Regions from separate parts of the Homo sapiens genome. Here regions 2 and 3 are each linked to region 1. The links are contacts of gene promoters, found by promoter capture Hi-C in blood cells and fetal thymus (Javierre and others, 2016). All regions are on one chromosome and are shown on one strand. Each heading gives the region's core, a stretch centred on a gene start or on the middle of the fragment in contact. The rest is flanking DNA. Distances are from core to core; before and after follow the strand shown. Region 1 holds the start of MIR1915HG (MIR1915 host gene). Region 2 overlaps PIP4K2A (phosphatidylinositol-5-phosphate 4-kinase type 2 alpha). Region 3 holds the start of PIP4K2A (phosphatidylinositol-5-phosphate 4-kinase type 2 alpha).

The links. The method cuts DNA at HindIII sites, captures the fragments that hold promoters and counts their contacts. A CHiCAGO score of 5 or more calls a contact.
Region 2: a fragment that was not itself captured here is called in contact with the fragment with the promoter of MIR1915HG in region 1 in 2 of 17 cell types (total CD4 T cells and naive CD8 T cells); the score reaches 5.3 in total CD4 T cells.
Region 3: the fragment with the promoter of PIP4K2A here is called in contact with the fragment with the promoter of MIR1915HG in region 1 in 3 of 17 cell types (neutrophils, total CD4 T cells and naive CD4 T cells); the score reaches 6.6 in neutrophils.

What each region holds. Positions count from the first base shown.
Region 1 is chr10:21,495,593-21,499,342 of GRCh38, forward strand. It overlaps MIR1915HG (MIR1915 host gene), which reads right to left and starts at 1,668. Exons shown (of 2, transcript NR_160800.1): 1 at 1,158-1,668; 2 at 1-353. MIR1915 (microRNA 1915) reads right to left here and starts at 1,049; the gene lies at 970-1,049. RefSeq lists silencers at 149-588, 639-688, 899-1,148. The HindIII fragment of the contact is 8,649 bases long and covers 1-3,750 here.
Region 2 is chr10:22,568,636-22,572,335 of GRCh38, forward strand. The region is part of intron 5 of PIP4K2A (phosphatidylinositol-5-phosphate 4-kinase type 2 alpha); the gene reads right to left. Among named protein-coding and RNA genes, the nearest start is that of LINC03027, 130 kb to the left of the region's middle. The HindIII fragment of the contact is 1,931 bases long and covers 1,103-3,033 here.
Region 3 is chr10:22,712,258-22,715,937 of GRCh38, forward strand. It overlaps PIP4K2A (phosphatidylinositol-5-phosphate 4-kinase type 2 alpha), which reads right to left and starts at 2,321. Exons shown (of 10, transcript NM_005028.5): 1 at 1,926-2,321. The coding sequence starts at 2,069. RefSeq lists silencers at 1,057-1,166, 1,467-1,586, 1,757-1,836, 2,137-2,806 and enhancers at 1,967-2,575, 2,576-3,183. The HindIII fragment of the contact is 12,209 bases long and covers 1-3,680 here.

The sequences.
Region 1 (3,750 bases), core at 418-2,917:
GGAATTTTCAATCTCGCCTGTCGAAATCGCTAGCTGCGCATCCGCGGAAGAAGTCCTGGATGAGAGGTAGGGTGAAGGGATCAAGCAGATAGCAGCAGGCATCAGCACACTCCGGCCGTTCCGGACGGTCAGGCCCGCCGCTACAGGGAGAAGTGCGGCGGATGGAGCCAGGGCTGCGGGTTGCGCGCGGGCTGGGAACCCGGTGGTGCCACCTTAAGAGTCGGGTCCGCGCAGCGGCTGCGGAGGCGCCCGGCACCTGCAGGGGGCGCTGCTGCCCCGTGGTTTCTCCCGCGCCGCCGCGTGCAGCGGGCCTGGCAGCTCCGGGGCCCCGGTCCCCGGAGGGGGTGGGGACGCTGGGGGAGGAAGGGAGCGAAGTGCAGCCGTTAGGTAACGAACCCGAACCCTCCCGGATTCAGAAGCGGCCTCAGTGAGGCGTTTGCTGGAGGGAGCTTTCCATCATTCGGCCGCGAGAGGAAACGTGGGGAGGCGCCCTCCCCTGCCCCCACCGCCTGCCTTCCTGCCTCCCTCCACCTCCGCTCCCCGACCCCGACCGTGCTTCCCAGACCCTTTGTTCTCGAGGTTGGGAACGGCTGGGTGGGGGTTCCCCGGGGAAGAGGTCCCCCGCGCCGCTCGGAGGGGAAGGGACTGTCGCCTGCCCCGCACCCCAGCCCTCCCCAGTGCCGTCCCCCTTTCCCCCGGCCCCTTCCATCGCGTCCACGCGCTTCCGTTCTCACTCGGACTCCCCCAACTCCCGAGCTCCGGCTCCCCAGCCTGCACGGTCTGCAAGCCCGCCTCCCTTCCCACTTCCCCGCCACCTCTGAGGTCCCCGGGAAGAGGGGAGGAGAGGGAGACGTGTGGGGGAGGAGAAACCACAGAGCCTTCTCGGCGCGGAGCATTCCCAGGGACCCTTCCAGGCCCCGACCCCTGGGACCCGCTGCAGAGGCAGGGCTTTCCCGGCGCCGCCGCAGGTCGCTAGGGCCGCCCCCGCCGCGTCGCCCTGGGGCCCACGGGTGCACGGCCCGGGCAGCAAGGCAAGGTGCGGCCTCTCAGCGCCAGGACCCGAGACCCCCAGCTGGAGAGAAGGGGACACCGTGGTCCGCGCCCTGGGGAGGCTAATTGCACACGAACGCCCCCCTCTTCCCCGCCCCCCACCGTACCCTCTGCAGCGCCACCCGCGTCGCCTCTCCGCCGTGCGCCACCCTGAGGGCTCCCGCGATTGCATCTTCTTGAGCACAGTTACCAATGCGTTCAGCTTCGTTTCTTACTCGGATGGAGACATCGCGGAGGGAAGCGAGGGGACAGGGATGCGGTAGTAGGGGAAAGGTGGGGCGGGAAACCGAGCAGAGAGGTGGGAGACTTGGCTGAGGCAATGGCACCAGGCAGGGCCGCCCGGAGTCCCGAGTCCAGGTCCGCGAGGCAGGCCCCGGTGCAGCCGCGCCCCGGCCGAACCCTACATGTCCTCTGTACTGTGGACACGAGTCCGCGGAGCGCCAGTCACACCCCCGCACCCCTGCAAGCTCCCGCCGTAGAGGGGGCTCGGCACCATCCTGGTCACAAAGTACGTGCCCCCACCCCCCACCCCCAGGTGAAGAGGACGCAGCCCGGCGCCGTCAGCTCCAGGCTGCCTGGAGCCCCCTCCGGCCTCTCGGCGCGACCCTGGTCCTCAATGGCTCGTCGCGAGCTGCGCTAGCTGCTCTCTCGGCAGCGGGTTCCCCAGGACACACCCAGTCCCCACCCCCCGAGAGCTGGCGGCCAGCTCAGGATGCCAGGCGGCCAGGCGGGCGCCCTGCCAAATTCCGCGTTCCTCTCCAGGAGACGGGGAGTTGCGTCCCAGGCTCGGGAAAGCCCGCAGTTCGGGCTTGGGACTCGCTTACAAAGCCCCCCAAGGCGCCAGGGACGCCTCTGCAGGTTGAATTCCTGCTCCGTATCACTTCAATTTTAATTAATCTTTTAAAACACCGCTGTCACGTCGCTTGCAGAAAATTAATCAAACTTGAATCCTTGTTGCATAGCAAGAATTTCGATCCGAGTCTTTTAAAAAGGACTTGACTTTGCAAAGTCACGTCTTTTACAGTTCCCTCATTCCCCCTTTAGCAAGGGAAATACTGCAAAAGTCAAGACATGTTTGTTTGGTTCTTTCTATCTTCAAAATGAAACTTTGCTTATTTCTGATCTTTATTTTCCTGTCTTTGAACAAAAAAAAATAACGAGATAAATTGCCTACCTCGATTAATTCAAAGTATAATTACTTTGAATGATCTTTGTTTAAGAGCCCAGATAAACTAAGATAATCTTAATTTTAATGTGACACGACCCCTATTTTTCCTTGTGAATAATGAGAATAAAGCAGTCATTAATTAATACCAAGATATCTCCATAGAAGATGGTATCTGTTCTCGCTGAGACACTGAAACATCAGTTGTATTAGTAATTGATACTGTATAATTGAACATGAAGATAGCCGTCTATTTTTAACCTCCAAGCTCAGAGTTTATTTGGTGATTATTGAGCTCCTAATAATTAATTTTTTTCCTTCTTACTGCATAAATAATTCTTACGACTCCCAGTTCCCATGCAATGCAGAGGCTTCTCATTAAAACCTACCCCTCAAAATATAAGATTGTGAAGCTATATTGTGCAGCAACTCCTTCTATTTCATTATTTGTAACATATTTCCTCTATTTCATATCTTCCTGGTGCATTTCCTTTGCTGTGATTTTCCTACTAAATCTATGAGAATATAACTATAACATCTTTTACCATAGCTTTGTCTTTCTGTGATCTCTTGGTTCAGTTTAATACACAATACTTAAGACTTCAATTTTTCAAGTTACTAAAATTTGAGGATGAGTTCCACTGAAGAATCAAAAATACTTGTATAGTGAAGTTGCCATGGATTATATTCCCAACCTAACACACAGTCCACTTTAACTCACACTTTTCTGTTGTTAAAAATAGACTTTGCTCAAACACATTCCCTTTTTCCAACTTGAGTTGAAGAGAGTTCTCACAATTTCCTGGGTTAAATGTACATGCTAACACAACCTTTGACATTAAAAAACAAATTCCCCTCCCGCGTTGGAGAGAAGTCTTCCAAACAGTCATGGAAATTTAGACTGTAGCTTTAAGGTATCTAATTATTTCTTAGCCTCAGTTATTTTGGGGCATCAGAATGATCTTCACTTTTTAAGTGGAAATGGTTATGATATTTTTCTCATACATACAAAAAACTCTCTACTTATTTTTCCAATAAAGTGTCTCCCAAGTATGACATGTTGTATACCACACAAATATTCTTAGTACCTCCGCTACCAAATCCATGCATTTTCCCTGTCAGTGCTCTATCTAAAATTCTGGAAAGTATAGAGGGTTTCCACTTTTATTTCCCCCTTAGTACAATTAAAACTTTAGGTCAATATATAACGGAGTGATTCTCTGCACTTGGATTTTATATTTTCCCACTATAATTTGGACTGGAATGGGATTAAAACAGCATCTAGAGTTCTAATCTTGGTTGATGTTTTGGTGTATTCACCGTAATGAGTCCTATTCTCTGGGGTCATGAAGCTCCCAAATGTCAATCAAGCAAACAGATTCAGAAATGCCATTGTTCGACTCCCACGTCACTCGCCTTCCTCTCATTTTATTTAACAATACCGGAGTTCTCTGATCAGTCATTCGGAATATGAGGCATTATCTGGGGAAAATTCACAAAGTGTCTTGATCTTTCTTTGGGAGATACTGTTAAGG
Region 2 (3,700 bases), core at 818-3,317, 1.1 Mb after region 1:
GCTCTGGGTTGTCTAGCATGACCTGAGTCTACCTCGGAGGCCGACGGGGAGGCTTTAGGGGTAGAGTCCAAGCAGAGAAACTTCCCGTGGCTTGTGGAAGATTTTAATTCAAAAGAAAAGCTGGGAAACAAATGGTCTGGTGAATTCCTAAGTATGGATGACAATCACGGTGTCTCATACACAGCAGATGTCCTGTGTTTACTGCATAAATGGCTGGAGAAGAATCACAGGCCAATTTCCTGGGCTCCCTTCCCCTCCTGCACTGGACACCCCTAACTATCGTGAGGTCAGCCAAGCCACTTGCTTCTTTACCACCTGATGAAAAGACATCTATTGCCCTGGGTTACTTGAGTTAGCCATTCATTAAATGAACTTACAGTTGGCTTGGGAAAAGTGAAAGTGGCTTTTAGATTGGCCATCTGCAAAGAAATCAAAATTTTTGATTACTGGCTTTCATCGAGCAGCTCAGGCATTGACTAGGATTGAGCTTCCTGCAATTCACAGATGCGGAAACTTGAACGGAAGAGACTCCTCACATTGGGGAAGGGAGCCAAGACCAGGCTGGGGGGGTCTCCCCAGGGCCGATCTTCCATCCCCCTGGTGCTCAGTGCCCCCAGGACTGGAAGATCCGAGGGACGCTGCTGCTGGCCCAGGGAAAATGTTCAATGTTTCTCAGGGCGATTCAGAGCAGCCCAAAGCTGACCCATCAGATGGAGACAGATAATGTGAACCATTCATGAAGGCAAACCTGAGAACCCATTCTACGACCACAGTCCGAGCCCCTCTGCACAGCCATGCCCAGCAACTGTTACTTGCCATGGTCTACTTTCCTTCCTTTAGGGATTCCTGAATATGGACCAGAAGTACCTTCCTTTACACACTGATTTTTCACAACGAATGTTCCCAAATACTTTTTAAAAATGGGACATTTGTAATACTTGAGCACTGCCTATGATGCTGGGAACAGGAAGAAACTATTCTACTTTGAATTCTTAACCAAGTTCTTGGGGTGTGTGTGTCTGTGTGTGTGTGTGTCTGTCTGTGTCTGTGTGTGTGTTTCCTCTCCTACAATATAATCCACCCTGCTTCTGATTCTCAGGGAAGCTTCATCTGTATGCAAATGCTGATCATTAGCTTGGGAACAACAAAACACAAAACTCATCCAAGTTTAAATTAATTCACAATAAAAAATTATTAAAAAAAATAGAAAAGGAAGGCCAAGAGTTTAAGCCATGAAACAATGCCAGATGTACAGGTTCCATCACAACTGAGAGCACTGGCAAGAACAGAGTTTATCTATGCCACAAGCCAGAAAGGGAGATGAAACTGTGAAAAAAGCAAGGCAAATTAAAACTAGAATATCCAATCTCTAAGTATAATTTACTCCAAGATATGTTTACCAGATGCCTACTTGTCCGAGGCGCTATCTTAGGCATTGCAGGGGGATTAAAAAAAAAAAAGTTAAGTAGAAGAACATACTTGCCCTTGAGGCACTTACACATCAGGAGAATGAATGAGGCAACCAAGATTCATTAACTCCCATATGCCATGCCTCACGCTGGACACAATACATATGTATCTTATTTAATTCTCAAAACATCCCTGCAAATGTAGGTAAAATTATCCCTATTTTAACAGATGAAGAGACGGAGGGTCATAGAGGTTCAGCAACTTACACAAGGTTAACAAGTCATAAAAGAACAACATGTGACTTTAGAGGTCACTCTGGCTTTCTTCCCTGGGGAAGTCAGACAGAGTCCTGTGTGCTCTGAGCAGTACCGCCAAGGCTTCACGAAAAGAGCTGGTGCTGGCAAGGGCCCTGGAGGATGGCTGGGATTTCCCCAGGGGCAATTCCAGGGGCACAAAATGGCTTGCTTGGGCGAAGACTTTAAGACAGGACAGGACAAGGGTGTATTTGGGAAGTGGATCCAGTGTGTGGGGACTTCAGAGGTTAGGAGACAAGCCCAGACCATTTCCTTCACTTAGACTAGCATTTCTCTAAGCATGGTTCAGAACCCTGGGGTCCCAAGACCAAAACTATACAAAGCCAAAACTATTTTTATAATAATACTGAGAAATTATTTGCCTTTTTCAGCGTCTTGATATTTGTATAAATAATGCAAAAACAATGGTGGGAAGAACTGCTAGCAGTTTAGCATAAGTCAAACAGTGGCAACAGTGGGTATTAGTAGTGTTTGTGATTTAAAAAAAAAAAACAATGAAAAAAACCAGCACCATCTAAGAAACCCAGCGTCATTTCAGAAACCTCTGAAGCCACACATCCTGGTTTTTGTGACTTGTGAGCTGTGTACGAGTTGCTGAACTTCTGGCTAAGATGGTGTGTCATACAAGTAGGCATCTAGTAAACACATGAAAGCATAACATTAAATGTATCAAATCTAGACCCAGGAGTACACGTCTTTTCAATATTCTGTGCAGGAAATATACATAAAGCACTTCTGTTTATAAAGAAGGAATGATTTCTTAAGAACTGTTTTCGTGACGGTTTGAGTTATGAGTTGAACTGGCCATCTTTTTCATGAAACAACACTTTTACTTGAAAGAACAACTGACAGTCTATGTTTATTTAGATCTGGGCATGTGACTGATGTTTGCTACAAAATGAATGAAGCTGCTAGGCTCCCCTGTATGCTGGGGTGCTTGCTACATGTGGTCATTTCACAGAAAACAACTGACAGGGCTTGTGGCCAGTGATAAAATTTGAGATTCCAAGTAAAAAACTGATTTTTAAAAAACTTATATCCACCATCCTGGGCCTGACCGCTTCCCAATATGTAAAAGACTTTTCTGATGACATTGGTGGTAACACTGTTATGACTTTTTGATACTGTATAATGAAATGTGTCAATATTTGGAAGAGTCAAATAACTCAGTGAACCAATGTGTTCCAAATGGCAAGTGCATGCCTTGGCAAAATCACACATTCAAACAATGCATGCAAACCAATCAATGGATTTCGATGAAGAGTACAAAAAGTTCATTGATATGATTTCAGATTTCATAATGTAACTAAGCTTTGAGAAATTACCTCTTGTCAAGCTTTGGTGTAGTATCAAAGAAGAATATCTACAATTATCCAAAAAAGTTGTTAAAACATGCTTTAACAACTTTCCAAACTTCATTATTGTGTGAGTTCAGATTTTCTTCACATACTTCAGCGGCATAACACCACACAGACTGACAGCGGAATCAGACAGGACATTCCAACTATCTCACATTAAGTCAAGACATTACGGAGATTTGCAAAAATGTAAAACAATGCTACTTGTCTCATTCATGTTTTTGCTTTTGGAAAATAGTTATTTTTCATAAAAATGTTAACATGTAATGTTTTTCTCATTTTTAAAGAAACTACATATTCTAATATTTCTTATATTAATTTTTAATACTGTAAATATCCACAGACACAACTCACATCTGCAAAAGCTTTCGAGTGTCCTCTTGTAAGAGCGTGAAAGCGTTGAGACCAAAAAACTTGAGAACCAAATGTCAGAGACCAGAGTTTGGCAAACTTTTCTGCAAACAGTCAGTGGGTAAACGTTTTAGGCTTTGTGGTCCCAAATGGTCTCTGCGGTAACTACCAAACTCTGCCATTACAGTGCAAAAGCAGTAACAGACAATACAGAAACAAGGGGCATCGTGGTATTCCAATAAAAATGTATTTATAAAATTGGCCCAG
Region 3 (3,680 bases), core at 1,071-3,570, 1.2 Mb after region 1:
TATAAGGTAGCAACGTAAGTGGTTACAGTAAAACATACACAATTACAAGATTTTTTAAGGCAAACTGGAATTCAGACGAGTTCCCAGAAAGCACACTCTTTTTCGGCAGCATATTGTTGACACTACCTTACTAAATTAAACCCCGAGACAGAAACACTCTCCTGACCAAAACACCAGAACTCCAAAGGAGATAAAAGCACCATAAATATGAGTAAGCACTACAGTATTCATCCTTTTTTTAAATTGTAAGTTTCTATTCTAGTAATAAGGGACCCAAAAACTACTAACATAAATAATAAAAGAGCTTAACAAAATTATACATAACTCTACATTGTAAACTTATTACTTAGGAAAAATTGCATTTCATTTTCCGTAATAAAACTTGAGAGAGGAGTTTTTGGTGCAGTAATGCATGCTCTTGTAACAACTTACATTCCCAAATAGCTAAAGAAGTTGCCAGGAAGTTAAAATGAACTTCAGTGAGTCAGTCATTAAGCTGGATAAAAATAATCATTTCTCAACTTTTCCAAAAACACTCACTCCATGCAAACACGATCGATCCTGATACTGTTTTGCCCTTCCCCCTGCTCAGCTTGGGGAAGAAAAATACAAAAACGATGCTTTTAGGCATTTTAAACAACTTCACTACATTGAGGGTGTGTGTGTGTGTGTGTGTGTGTGTGTCTGTGTGTGTGTTTTCCGAAAAACCAGCATGGTTTTCTGTCATTTCCATTACGCTGAAAAGGACATACAGACATCCATCGAAATCAAAAGCAGGGAAAGCGAACTTACACTTTTCCCCAGATGCTAAGTGACTGCAGTGGCTAAGGTCATGGTCAAAATTCACAGCTCGTTTAAACTTTCCTGGCTGAGCCAACAGCTCCGATCATGTTTCCTGATCCTATCGAAGTGGATTAAAACTGCAGGAGTTTCTCGCTGTCAGATCAGCAGGAGGCTATTTCAGACCCTCGAACCGCAGTCCGCATAGCCCGCAGCGGCGCATCCTCCAATCCCCGACTGTGCGTGACGCTAACCTTTCCACGCGTTCTCCAGCCTTTCCCACACCCCCCACAGCGGGTGCGGCCAACTCGGGACCCCCTCCGCCCGCGCCCGCCGGGACCCCCGCCTGCTGTCCCCGCCCCGGCCGCCCTTCCGCAGTCGGTGACTTCTGCCTGACTCCCCAAAGTGGGGGGAGGCGACGAAGGGAGGAAGACTCCCCGCCAAGGGCTCTCCAGCCCGCACAGCGGCAGGGCGATGCGGGAGAAGCGCAGGGATGCCGCCCGACGCCAGAGCCATATTTACATCGGCTGCTGCTTTGCCAAAAAGCCGACTTGTGCCCAGTAATATTGCCTTTAAAGGAAAAAGAAAGGACCTAAGCACTAAAGCTGCTGCCCCAAATCTGCTCGCGCTCCGGTATCCTCGCCCCAGTGCCCCAGTGGGAGGCTCGCACGCGCCCAGCCCGGGACAGGTACACCTGCCCGCAAGCGGAAGACGCGGGCGCCGCGCGGCCCCCACACCGGGTAGCGGTCGCCCGGACCCGGCCCCCAGCAGCTCCCGCCGGGGCTGACAGCCGAGGCGCCGTGCCCCGCACAAACTTCCTACCTCCCAGGCTGCGGGGACCGACCTGCGGGCGGGCGGGCGGACCGGGGGCGGCACTGGCACCCACCGTGAGACTCACATGCACACGGGACCCCCGACCCGCACCGGGCCATAGATCTAAAGGGGACGCAAGTGGTGGTGCCTGGGCGGCCCAGAGGGCTGGGGGCACGCGCCGCGGGGCTGGGGGCTTCGAGGCGGGCGAGCAGCCGGAGGTCCAGGGCTGACTCCGGCTCCCCGCCCCGCAGCAGCTGCAGCCGGAGGAGGAGGGGAACGAGGAGGAAGAGGAGGAGGAGGAAGGGGACCGCGCGCCGCAGCTGAGCCCTTACCGAGTGGTTTACCCCCCACATGAGGACGCTGAGCAGCGGGTCGCTGGCCCGAAACAGCTTCACTTTCTGCGCTACGAAGTGCTTCTTCTTGGTCTTGGTCTTGCTCGCCAGGACAGAGGACCCTAGGTTGCCGGGGGTCGCCATGGCCGCCTCCTATGTCCCCTCCACCGCCGTGCTCCCGAGGCCGGGGACCCGCCCTCTCTACACCCCGGCCCGGGGAGGCAGCCGCATCCCCCCGGCGGCGGCCCCGGCGCGCCGCGCTCCGCTCCGCCCGCCGCCGCCGGCGCGCTCAGCCCCACTCGGCTCGCTCCGCCCGCTCGGCCCGGCAGACTGCGCTCGGCTCGCGCCCCGGCCCGTATCCTGCGCCCGCCGCGGATCCGCGCTCAGCCCGCGGCTGGACCCGGCGCGCGGCGAGCGGCTTCCGCGTTGGGCGCCGGCGTCATGACGCAGGGGGCGGGCGGGCAGGCGGGAGGCGGCTGCGGCGCCGCGGGCGGGGCACTGGGTGCGGGGCGCGGGGCGCGGCAGCTGGACCGTTAGGCTGCGCCTTCCCGCCCCGGCTCCGCTGCAGCCGGGCCGCCCCCTGTGCGCGGGCGACCTCCGGGCGTTCGCTCCCTGCCCGCGGAGGAGGCCGTGGGTTGCGAGCGGGAGCCTGGGGACCCCGGCTAGGCGTCCCCTGCCGCTCCCCAAGGAGGGAGAGGACAGAGTGGGCAGAGTGAGGAGGTTGGGGAGAGGAGCCCCCAGGCGTCGATCAGGCGAAGGAGGGAGGCTCATGCACTCACCCACGCCACGAGTCAGGAGACCCAGCCAGGTGTGAAATGCTGCAGGGAGACCAGGGCTTCCCAGCACCGAGGGGAAGGACCCGGGCACATTGCCGGGTCAGTCCCTGAAATGAACTTAATACTTTTGTGCGGATAACCGTCTGGCCTTTCAGACCCTCGATATGGGCCTCCTGGAGCCATTCAAGAGGGAGACTCCCACGTAATAGGCTGGGCTGTCACTGCCAACCCACTCCGTGCCCGGGGCAGGAACCTCGGACCTCATCGAGAGCCCTTGGCTTAACCAGTAGAATCATGCCCCAAAGTGCACCTTCTTCCAATCCATCACTATGGTACTTGCCATCCCTGCCTGTTTTCCAGTGCACTCACCGTCCGTGGAAATCTGTTCACCGTCTTCCTCCAGATACACCTAAATGTAGCCCTTATTATGCTGAGAATACTTGGCCTACCTCAGGAAGCTGCCATTCCAAGTATGTCTAAAACCCTGCTGCCCCCATATCGTCCTTGCAGTCGTCATCCTGTGCTATTTACTCTGACCCAGCTCACCAGTCCTCACGGAGTAGGTTCTTGGAAACTGTCACCTTAAGCAAAACAACATATAACAAAACCAAATTTGCCATAGGCTGACATATAAAAAAAGAGTTAAGTTCCTACAGCATTATTTCCGGTTACAAAAACATCACCGAACTTCAAAGTAAAAATTCAAAACACTTCTAATATTAAACATTAAAATAAATGTGAGCTATACCTCTTTTTTATTTTTATTTTTTCCCTTGAGATAGGGTCTCGCTGTGTCAACCAGGCTGGGGGTGCAGTGGTGCAATCACAGCTCACTGCAGGCTCTACTTCCCCAGACTCAGGTGATTCTCCCACTTCAGACTCCCCAGTAGTTGAGACTACAGGCGCGCACCACCAAGCCTGGATAAACTTCTTGTATTTTTGGTAGAGATGGGGTTTCACCATGCTGCCCAGGTTGGTC